Regions from separate parts of the Homo sapiens genome. Here region 1 is linked to region 2. The links are contacts of gene promoters, found by promoter capture Hi-C in human tissues and cell types (Jung and others, 2019). All regions are on one chromosome and are shown on one strand. The core of a region is centred on a gene start or on the middle of the fragment in contact, and the rest is flanking DNA. Distances in the headings are between cores, read along the strand shown.

Evidence for each region. Contacts are between HindIII fragments. The study calls those that stand out against the background at their distance.
Region 1: a fragment that was not itself captured here is called in contact with the fragment with the promoter of GSTM1 in region 2 in 2 of the 25 tissues and cell types used here (aorta and small bowel).

Annotation. Positions count from the first base shown.
Region 1 is chr1:110,239,322-110,243,699 of GRCh38, reverse strand. It overlaps a transcript of KCNC4 not described here. Among named protein-coding and RNA genes, the nearest start is that of KCNC4, 31 kb to the right of the region's middle. The HindIII fragment of the contact is 5,191 bases long and covers 1-4,378 here.
Region 2 is chr1:109,684,586-109,689,282 of GRCh38, reverse strand. It overlaps GSTM1 (glutathione S-transferase mu 1), which reads right to left and starts at 1,466. Exons shown (of 8, transcript NM_000561.4): 1 at 1,374-1,466; 2 at 1,038-1,113; 3 at 546-610; 4 at 154-235; 5 at 1-58. The coding sequence starts at 1,409. RefSeq lists an enhancer at 1,367-1,416. The HindIII fragment of the contact is 14,943 bases long and covers 1-4,697 here.

The DNA of each region.
Region 1 (4,378 bases), core at 909-3,408, 550 kb before region 2:
CTACCTGCTTTTTCTCTCCCTGCTCCGCGGGCTACTGCTCCTCTCTCTGCCACTCTCCCTTCTCCCTCTTCCTCCTCTTCATCTTCCTCTTCTCAGCTTCTGAGATCTGCTTTCAGTCTTCCCCTGTGCTTCCTCTCACCTCCCTGCCTCCTTTAATCTCATTCCCAGGAGCTCACAGGTGTGTGTGGAAAGGACTTGGGGCAGCTCCTGGCCCCAGCAGGTCCGGGAAGCAGGTTAGAGAGAGGAATGGAAGGTGGGGCTGAGGTGCCCACGTGCAGGGAGCAGCCTTTAGAGCCAGCAGCTGTGTGGGTCTCCGTCTGGCTTCTCACTGCTTCGGGAAGCAAGCACACAGGTGTCACCACTTCTGGGTCGCTAAGGCGGAAATGGTCATGACAGTGAGTTGTCTCATGAGCACTGGTGTCCCAAGGCCCTGCCTCGAGTTGGACCTGCCTCCATCCTCTCAGTCCACAGTGAGAGGCCCTAGCAAGGAATTTCTGGAAAAGGACTTCTAGTGCTTCTGTTGTGCTCAGGCCTGCCAGGCAGGGTCTGTCAGTGTCAATAGGGAAGGACACACACTGAGCACTGTTTACTGCCTGGGTCTAGAGCCACTTCACATATCCCACCTCCATTTACTCCTCTGGGCAAAATCTGGAGATGTTTCCTTCTCTCCATTTCACAGACCATGCTTAGAAAGGTTAAGTCATTTGCCCAAGGTCACGCAGCTCACAAGTGGCAAAGCCAGTGGAGCCAGAATTAGCAATCTGGCCGTGGACCAGAAATCGATGGCAGTGGTGGTGCTGGTGCCAAGGGGCTGGCCACAGAGCCAGTGTAGAAGCATGGTCAAAATCGCCTGTGAAATCTATCTGTGAGATCTCCATCAAATTACTCTCCAGTTTCCTCACCTGTAAAATGTGAGTGATAAAAAGAGCCCTTACCTCCTGGGGCTGCTCTGATCCATTAAGCCATGTAGGGGGCTTGGGCTGGTCGTAAACACTCAATCCACGTTAGCTATTATACCTTCCAGAGGCACCTGCCCTCTGACTCTGGAGGAACACCCAAGTCCTCGACAGAGAGAAAGCCAGAAGAATGATAATCCCTTGCCTCCAGTGGTGCTTCAGGAGTTCCAAAGGACCCATCCATCCACTCTCATTTAATTATCATCCCACCTTGGATGAAGGCAGGGGAAGCTTAATTCCCATTCACAGATGTGGAACCTCAAGCCCAGCAACAGCGTGGGATTGGCTCAGACCCCTCTGGAAACAACCCTTGCCAGCCTCTTTTTCTATGTCCACTTATGTAGCAGGAGTTTCATCCAAGAGCACAAACCTGAGCACCTAACTAGCACTCGGAGAGTTGGGGTGGGTGGGAGGCTCACAGAACACCACTAATGAAGACTGAGAAGGAAGCAGACGGAGGGAGAAAGGACCCAGGATATAGCCCCCCCCGCTGTTCCAAGTTAACTGTGATGTAAATTGAAGCTACTAACATCAGGAAAGAAAGGCCCAGATGGCTGAAGCCTGGAGAGTTGAGGGGAAATGGGGAACTTTGGAAGGGAGTACTGATGGTGAGGGTGGCGTGGGTGAGAGGAGACTTGGCTGGCACATGGTGGTGGGATGGCAGAGTGAGAGGTCCAGCATCCCGGATAATTATTCTGGACAAATCTTACAACCCAACCATGGACTAGAATGACAGGGGTGAAGGGCAGAAGTCAGCAGAGGGCAGCTAATTCATTCACTCCTTACTCATTCACTCATTCCTTTGTTCACCTTTGAGCTCCTGACCACTGAGCAGGGGCTGGAGGTAAAAACATTAATAAGGAAAGCATCCATAAATGAGTAAACAAGCAACAAGTTATCACTGCAGTAAGTGCTATAATGGAGGAATATTCAAGGTTCTGTGAGAGCATAAAGGACAGAGGAATTCTACCTGGGAGAGCCCAGGAAGGATTCTCAGAGGTGACAGTTGAGTGGGCCTTGAGGGATGAGTAAGAGTTTGCCAGGCTGAGGACACAATAGTAGAATGTAAGAGGGGAGCACAAGGAGCAGGAAGATCTTCCAGACAGAGGCAGCCTCCATTGCATATCACTTTGGATTTCTCTTTTGCGCTCCACGTCCTTCTTTGTTAATTGGAGTCAGGCCAGAATTCCTTGTAGAGCTCTGGCCCCTAATTTGACCCACACAGGAAGTTTTGGATTTCTTCCTCTCCTAATCGAAAAAATTATCTATCCTGCTTGGAGCTCTCTGGTGCTAGGACTTCCTATCACAGAGAACAAGGCTGTCACTCCACAAGTTGAGAGAAGGTCAACAGTCCTATCTCCTGGGAAATAAAATATACATGGACCCTAAATTCATACTAGAGTGCTGATGACTGACACAAAATACTTTCTTGTGCATAGGTCAGAAAATGAAGAGAGCAGGACGACTCTGGAAATGTGTGTTTATGTTTAGGTGCCAGTATGTAAGGGGACAGTAGTTAGCAAGAGCCTCTGGCAGGGGTGGGAAAGAACCCAAGCAGAAAGATAGAGAGTATTAGAGAGCAACTTTCCAGTCCTGTCCAGGGAAACCCAGCTTGTCACCACCTAGCACCGAGGCCCAGAGGGAGCCTGGTATCACTGGAGCCTTCTTACCTCCCTGCTGCCCTCAACATCCCGCCCCCAGGCGCCCTGGGAGCTGGTTGCCATCTCTAGTGGGGTGCTGACAGAAATGAGGTCCCTAATCAATTTTCCAGGGGGGCAGTGTCATCCCCTCAGGGGAAGAGCGGGTCCTGGGGCAGACAGCGGGATGCTGCCGGGGTGTTGGAAGGGGGCTGATTGTGACTCCTGTTCCCTGGTACTGTGGCTGCCTGGCATGGTGAGAGGATAGCACAGACTGGTCTCTCGGCAGCCTAACTAGGAGGGAGGCCCCAGGAGCAGCTTTGCTGTGGTGGCAGCCCTGGTGGTGGTGGTGGTCGTCGTGGTAGTGGCACAGCTCTGCCTCCCATGGCAGCTTAGGAGCCACCACCCCAGGGAGGGTCACTGTGGCAACAGCTACTCTGGGAACAGATCCTCCGGGCCTCTGAGGCTGGCCCCTGGTCTTCTCGAGGGGCAGCTGGCAGGCCTGTGCCGGGCGTGGGGAGGAGGCAGGGCACCTGTCTCTGAGCCAAGCCTCTGGGGCCCCAGGGCTGAGGCAAGGAGGAAAGGTGGTGTTTGTTTTCCTTTGTTTGCTATGAACATTTGATCACTGATGCTGGATTTGGAGTTAATCGTCCTTGGATCAGGGGCTCAATATGAGGAGCTGAGGGGAGGGGAGCTGAGGGGAGTCTCTAGGGATCTCAGGGATGGAGCTGGGCCTCAGGTTAAGGAATCCTGGGCTCTCGTCCCTGCAGAAGTCTCTTCAGGAGCAGTCTCTCCTGCTCCGGGCAGCCTGGGGTCTGAGCTGAGTTCAGGGTGCCCTTGGTGTCAGTGGCAGGCTGGAGGAACCCTGCTGTCCCACCTAAGGCTGGGGCAGGCCTGGGAGGCTCCGAGTCCAGGAAGACTGGAAGGAGTGGGGTAGGGTGCTGGCTTGAGGTGGACACCGGGCCAGGGTTCTCTTTCCCCGTTTCCCACTCCCTGACCTCACTTCCCTCCCTCTGCTTCTTCACTCTTCATCAACCCCTTTGCCCCTCCCTCCTCTTCCTCTTTCCTTCTTTCTCACTCTTCCTTCTTACTCATTGCTTCCTTTCTCACCATATCCTTCATTCACTTCAACATTTCGCTGAGCACCTACTCTGCATGGACCACTAAGCTAGGCCCTCGAGTGGGAGCTGGGATGAACCAGCACCTCTGAGCAACTCGCCACTGTGGGAAGGGGAATTTGACAAGTACCAAAAAGTACCAGGTAGAAAATGGTAGGTTCTAAAAGGAAGAGAGAGGAAGGGCTATGGGAACTCTCTCTCCAAGGCTTCCTCATTATTCTGACAGTTTCTCAGGCAGGAAATGCATAATGTAAAAAGAAGAGCGTTCATGTTATTCCCCAAGGACTCCCAGGAATGCCCTAGAAATGAGGTGCAAAAGCCAGCTGGAGACAGCTTGCGAGGAATAAGAGAGGATGGAGTTCAGCAGCTGCTCATGCCAGGCCTATCTCCAGCCCATTCATTCATTTGTTCATAAAATATTTACCGAGCCCCTATAGGCCCTAGCAACTTACAGGGAAGCAGGCAATACACAATTCATAGTTACAAAGGACTGTAAGTACCATGAAGAAAATGCACTGGCTGCAGTGATGGAAACTGACAGAGGCAGAGGGGCGTGGATGTGTGAGGGGAAAACGCCTCACCAAGAAAGTGAAATTTACAGCCAGGCCTTCTCAGCCAAGAGAAGGAGGTGGGGTGGGGCTGGACTGGGGTGAAGTGGTCCCCGTGA
Region 2 (4,697 bases), core at 217-2,716:
TCCATGGTCTGGTTCTCCAAAATGTCCACACGAATCTTCTCCTCTTCTGTCTCCCCACCTGCCACCCACAAAACACAGACTCAATCTCAGCATCACAGCCCAGCCAAGGAGGAGGCCACCTTCCCCCCACACATTGCAGCCACCCACACTCACACAGGTTGTGCTTGCGGGCAATGTAGCACAAGATGGCGTTGCTCTGGGTGATCTTGTGAGCCCCATCAATCAAGTAGGGCAGCTGGATGGATGGGAAACCGGCGAAGCTCAGTTGGGCCACCAGGCTCCCCAGCATCCCCTTCCCATAAGCAAGAGCAGAGAGGAGACCGGGCACTCACTGTGCCTGCTCATGGCAGGACTGAAATAAGAATACTGTCACATGAACGAATGCAGGTGGACACAGAACATCATGGAAGGACTGTTTAGACAGCCAGGAGTGAGAGGAATTGGGCAGAAGACTCCTGATCTTAACACCTCTAAGCTGGGGAGAGGAGATGCAGTCAGAGACACGTTGCACTTTCCCCCAAAACCGCCCCTTCCCCTGCACCTACATTGGGAAAGTCCAGGCCCAGCTTGAATTTTTCATTCAGCCACTGGCTTCTGTCATAATCAGGAGCTGTGGTGGGGAAGAAGAAGTGAAAACAAACCTCCCCAGAGCCCAGCCCTCCTTCCCGGGGACCCTCCCACGGAGCCAGTGGCAAGATCCCTGAGACAGGTGGATCTAGAATCTGACCACTCAGTCCCACATCCCAGGGTTCAGGGACAAAGAATCCCGCTGAGGGCTCTGGACCCCACACAGCTAAGGCTTCCAGGGTTTAGGCAAGCCCTGAGGGACACCCGTCCCAATTAGACAGGGGGCCCAGCATCCCACCCCAGCATTCTGCCTTGCAAGGCCAGAGGGCTCCCTCACCGGGGCTCAGGGAAGAGACAGCCTGCAGCTCCAGCAGGGGAGGCCTGCAGAGGCAGCCACAGGTGGCCACCATGGGTTGCTTGGTGCCAACTTAGCGTGAGTGGGCAGAGCCCGAACACGAGGGTGCCATTACCGTCCCCCATCGTGTACTTCTTTTCCTCATAGCTTGAGTCTGTGTATTCCAGGAGCAGGCGGATGGCGTGGGCCAGCTGGGAGAGATGGCCCGCAGGTCGCGTCAGAGATGGAGGGTCCCTGACTTTGTCTGCACCAGGGAAGCCCCCAGTTTACACTGCACGTACCCGTTGCCTCCTCTACCCGCCCACACCCCCAACACACACACAGCGGCATGCACAGGCCCTTCTGAGGCGGGCAGCCCTGAAGAGGAACGGTCCCTAGAGTCCGTCCCGCAGCTGCTTCGCACTTCCCTCCCCTGCGCCCTCGTCCCACCGTCCAGCGGACCCTCGCTCACCCCGCGGATGTCCCAGTACCCCAGTATCATGGGCATGGTGCTGGTTGGTGCGGATTCCGCAGACAGGCCTAAACCGAGCAGGGCTCAGAGTATAAGAGCTCCGGAGAGGGGACAGGCGGGGCCTTGCTGCGACCCCGCCCCTCGGCCCGCCACAACCCGAAAGGCGCCATTCTGGAGGCCCGGGAGAGGGCGCCTGGGGCTGCACTCAGTAAGACTTCCTCCCGCCTCCCAGGCCCGAGGGTTCCGGGAGCGAAGTCAGGGCGCCCAGAAGCCCAAGGCGGGGCTCGGCCTCGCCAGCTTCCCTACCCAGCCCTGAGGCTCCACGAGTCCATCCAGCCCTTGCTAGGTCCACAGCGACTTGGCTGTGCGCTTGAGACACCAGCCAGATCCTAACGGAGCAAAGCTCTTCTCCCTTCTCCTCCCTGCCCGCGGTGTCCCTCAGCCTTCTCTCCGCTGCCGAGTTCCCAAGGGCTCTGGGAGACTCCGGCTGCAGGGGTCAGACTAAAAAGTGGTGGCCCCAACCTGGGAATTTAATTCAGCCCCTGTCACTGTAAGAGCAGGACTTCCTCTGATCCGAAAGCTACTCCCAGGGCTTAGTCTCCCCTCTAGCCCCGCCTACACAGGAACAGTGTCAGTGGTATAGGAAGGACCCCCAGGAAAAGGGCCAGAGTAAAGGAAATGTGGTCTGTGTTTTCTGTTAGGGGCCCTCGGGTACTGAGTCCTTCGGTCATCTGGCTAAGTACTGTGTAAATTAGCCACTTCGTATTTTGGCACAATTTATGAATCGAAATCCAAGGATCAGATCCAGCAAGTTGGTGAGGTATCTGAGGTGCCCCCTAGAAATGTCCAGCCAGTCCACTAGGTGAACCTCACAGAGACCGGAACAGCAACAGCAACAGTGAGTGCAGTGGCCACAGAGAGCAGGCGAGGGAGGATGGAAGAACTTCCCGGACCAAACTGAGGGTCCGGCTGCTATTTCTCTAGGCCCAATAACGAGATGCAGATCAAATGGGGAGGAAGAGAGGTTTTATTTCTGCAACCGGTAACAGGGAGAAGGCCTAGAAATTACCACCAGACCAACTCAATATTACAAAGTTTTCCAGAGCATATATACCTTCTAAGGTATATGTCTACAAGTAAGTGTGCATTCATCTAAAGACATAAGTGATTAACTTCTTTAATCTGTAACTGAGGTCTGGGTCCTGAGGACCTTATTCTGGAGCCTCAGTCTATTTATTTAATCTAAATGGGTCCAGGTGCGGGGGATGATTACCCTTATCTTGTCTCCTGCTAAATCACGGAGGTTTGGGGAGTTCCTTCAGACGCCCAATAAACTTGTTTGTGGAGGCCTGGGGAGTTTCTTCAGACTCACAATAAAACTTGTTTAATTCTAAATAGGTCCTGTTAAGAATTCCTTCATTGTTTTGTCATGCTTTAAGGCCCAGGAAAGGCCTAAGCAAAACTCTTGGTGGGCTTTTGTTACATCCAGCCTCTGTATAAAGGTACTGGCTTTTTTCAGCTTTTAATATTTAACTTCACCACTCAGTCAGTACTGAAACAGTTGTTATGGAGGCCTGTGTTAGTGACGCCTGGCCTGCCACAGAACCTGTCCCTCAGAGAAGCCAGAACCCTGTCCTGCTGAGGAGGGAGGTCAGAGGATGGTGGCCAGAGAGGAGCCTGAGGGCTCCCCACAGGACCACAGGCAGGGACCCTCCCCTCTCCAGATCCACCATTCCGGACCTGGACCTGGCTCCTGACCCATGTGTGTTCTTCAGTATGAGACGGTGGCTCCAGTGGCCTTTGAAGTCACACCGTGATATGTGACCCATGGTACAACCTCCACGAGAACAATGTCCAACCTGCCAACTTTCTTCTTTCAAGGTAGAAGGAAGACTTTCAAAAGAGTTGTGCAATGGATTAGCCTGGGGTTGACTGCTTTAAAGGATATTGCAAATAATAATGGACATATGGAAATAGATGATAGACCTTTAATGAGAAATCATTTTGCAATGTAAACCAGGCTGTTGTGCTGCAAAAAAAGTAGTTTTTTTGTTTTGTTTTGTTTTGTTTTGTTTTGTTTTGTTTTTTGTAAATTAGCTAAAACATTGTTAGGACTCCAGAGGATGAACCCAGTATATCAAAAAAGTTTCAAACCACCTGGATAATGTGTGGTTTGGGGTTGAGTAAACAGGTAGACTTCATCACATCCCTATTAGGCCACAGAAATCAGGTGGTCAGCAGGTGGCTGCTAAGTTGGGGCACTTGGACACTGTGTCACTGAGGCTGGCAAGGCACAGTCCTTGTTGCAAACACTCCCCGCCCATCCAGACCTGGGCAGTACTCCCAGCTCAGATACCTGGCAGGTATCCATGTTTAGGAAGCAGTTTTGGCCTCACAGTGAACTCTTACATAGATTTTCCTGCATTGAGGCAATAGCACCAGCACAGACACAAGTGCCTGGCCCTAGGAAACATTATATTTCTCATTATGCATTAAGAGTTTATGATTCTGAGTTAATCCGTCTTGAGCTGTGAAAGATAAGATGTCTAGATCCAATTGAAAAAAAAAACGATTTTTTAAGAAAGCTAACACTCATGAGAATAATAATTTTGAAACACATAGAACCAGTACTGTTACATTAGTATTGTTTGAAATACTTGTTCCTTGGTGCCATAAAGAAATAGCACTTGAACATAAATTTAATTTCCTCAGCAAGGCTATTGGGGAACCTGCCCCCAATATTTCAACGTAGGTTCTTTCTATTTTCCATAAGTGTCAGCCAGCTGAGAAATAAAGAGAAAGAGTACAAAGAGAAGAATTTTACAGCTGGGCCGCCAGGGGTGACATCACATATCGGTAGGACCATGATGCCTGCCCGAGCCTCAAAACCAGCAAGTTTTTATTAAGGATTGCAAAAGGGGTGGTGGTGTACGAACAGAGGGTAGGTACGAAGATCACATGCTTTAAAGGGCAAAAAGCAGAACAAAGATCACATGCTTCTGAGGAAACAGGACAAAGGCAAAAGTAGAACTCCTGATAAGGGTCTATGTTCAGTGGTGCACATATTGTCTTGATAAACATCTTAAACAACAGAACACAGGGTTCAAGAGCAGAGAACCAGTCTGACCACAAATTTGCCAGGGCCAGGTTTTTTCCCCACCTGAGGGTACTGCAGGAGACCGGGGTGTATTTCAGTCCTTATCTCAACTGCATAGGACAGTCATTCATTCCCAAAGCGGCTGTTTATAGACCTCCCCCCAGGAATGCATTCCTTTCCCAGAGTATTAATATTAATATTCCCTGCTAGGAAAAGAATTTAGCAAT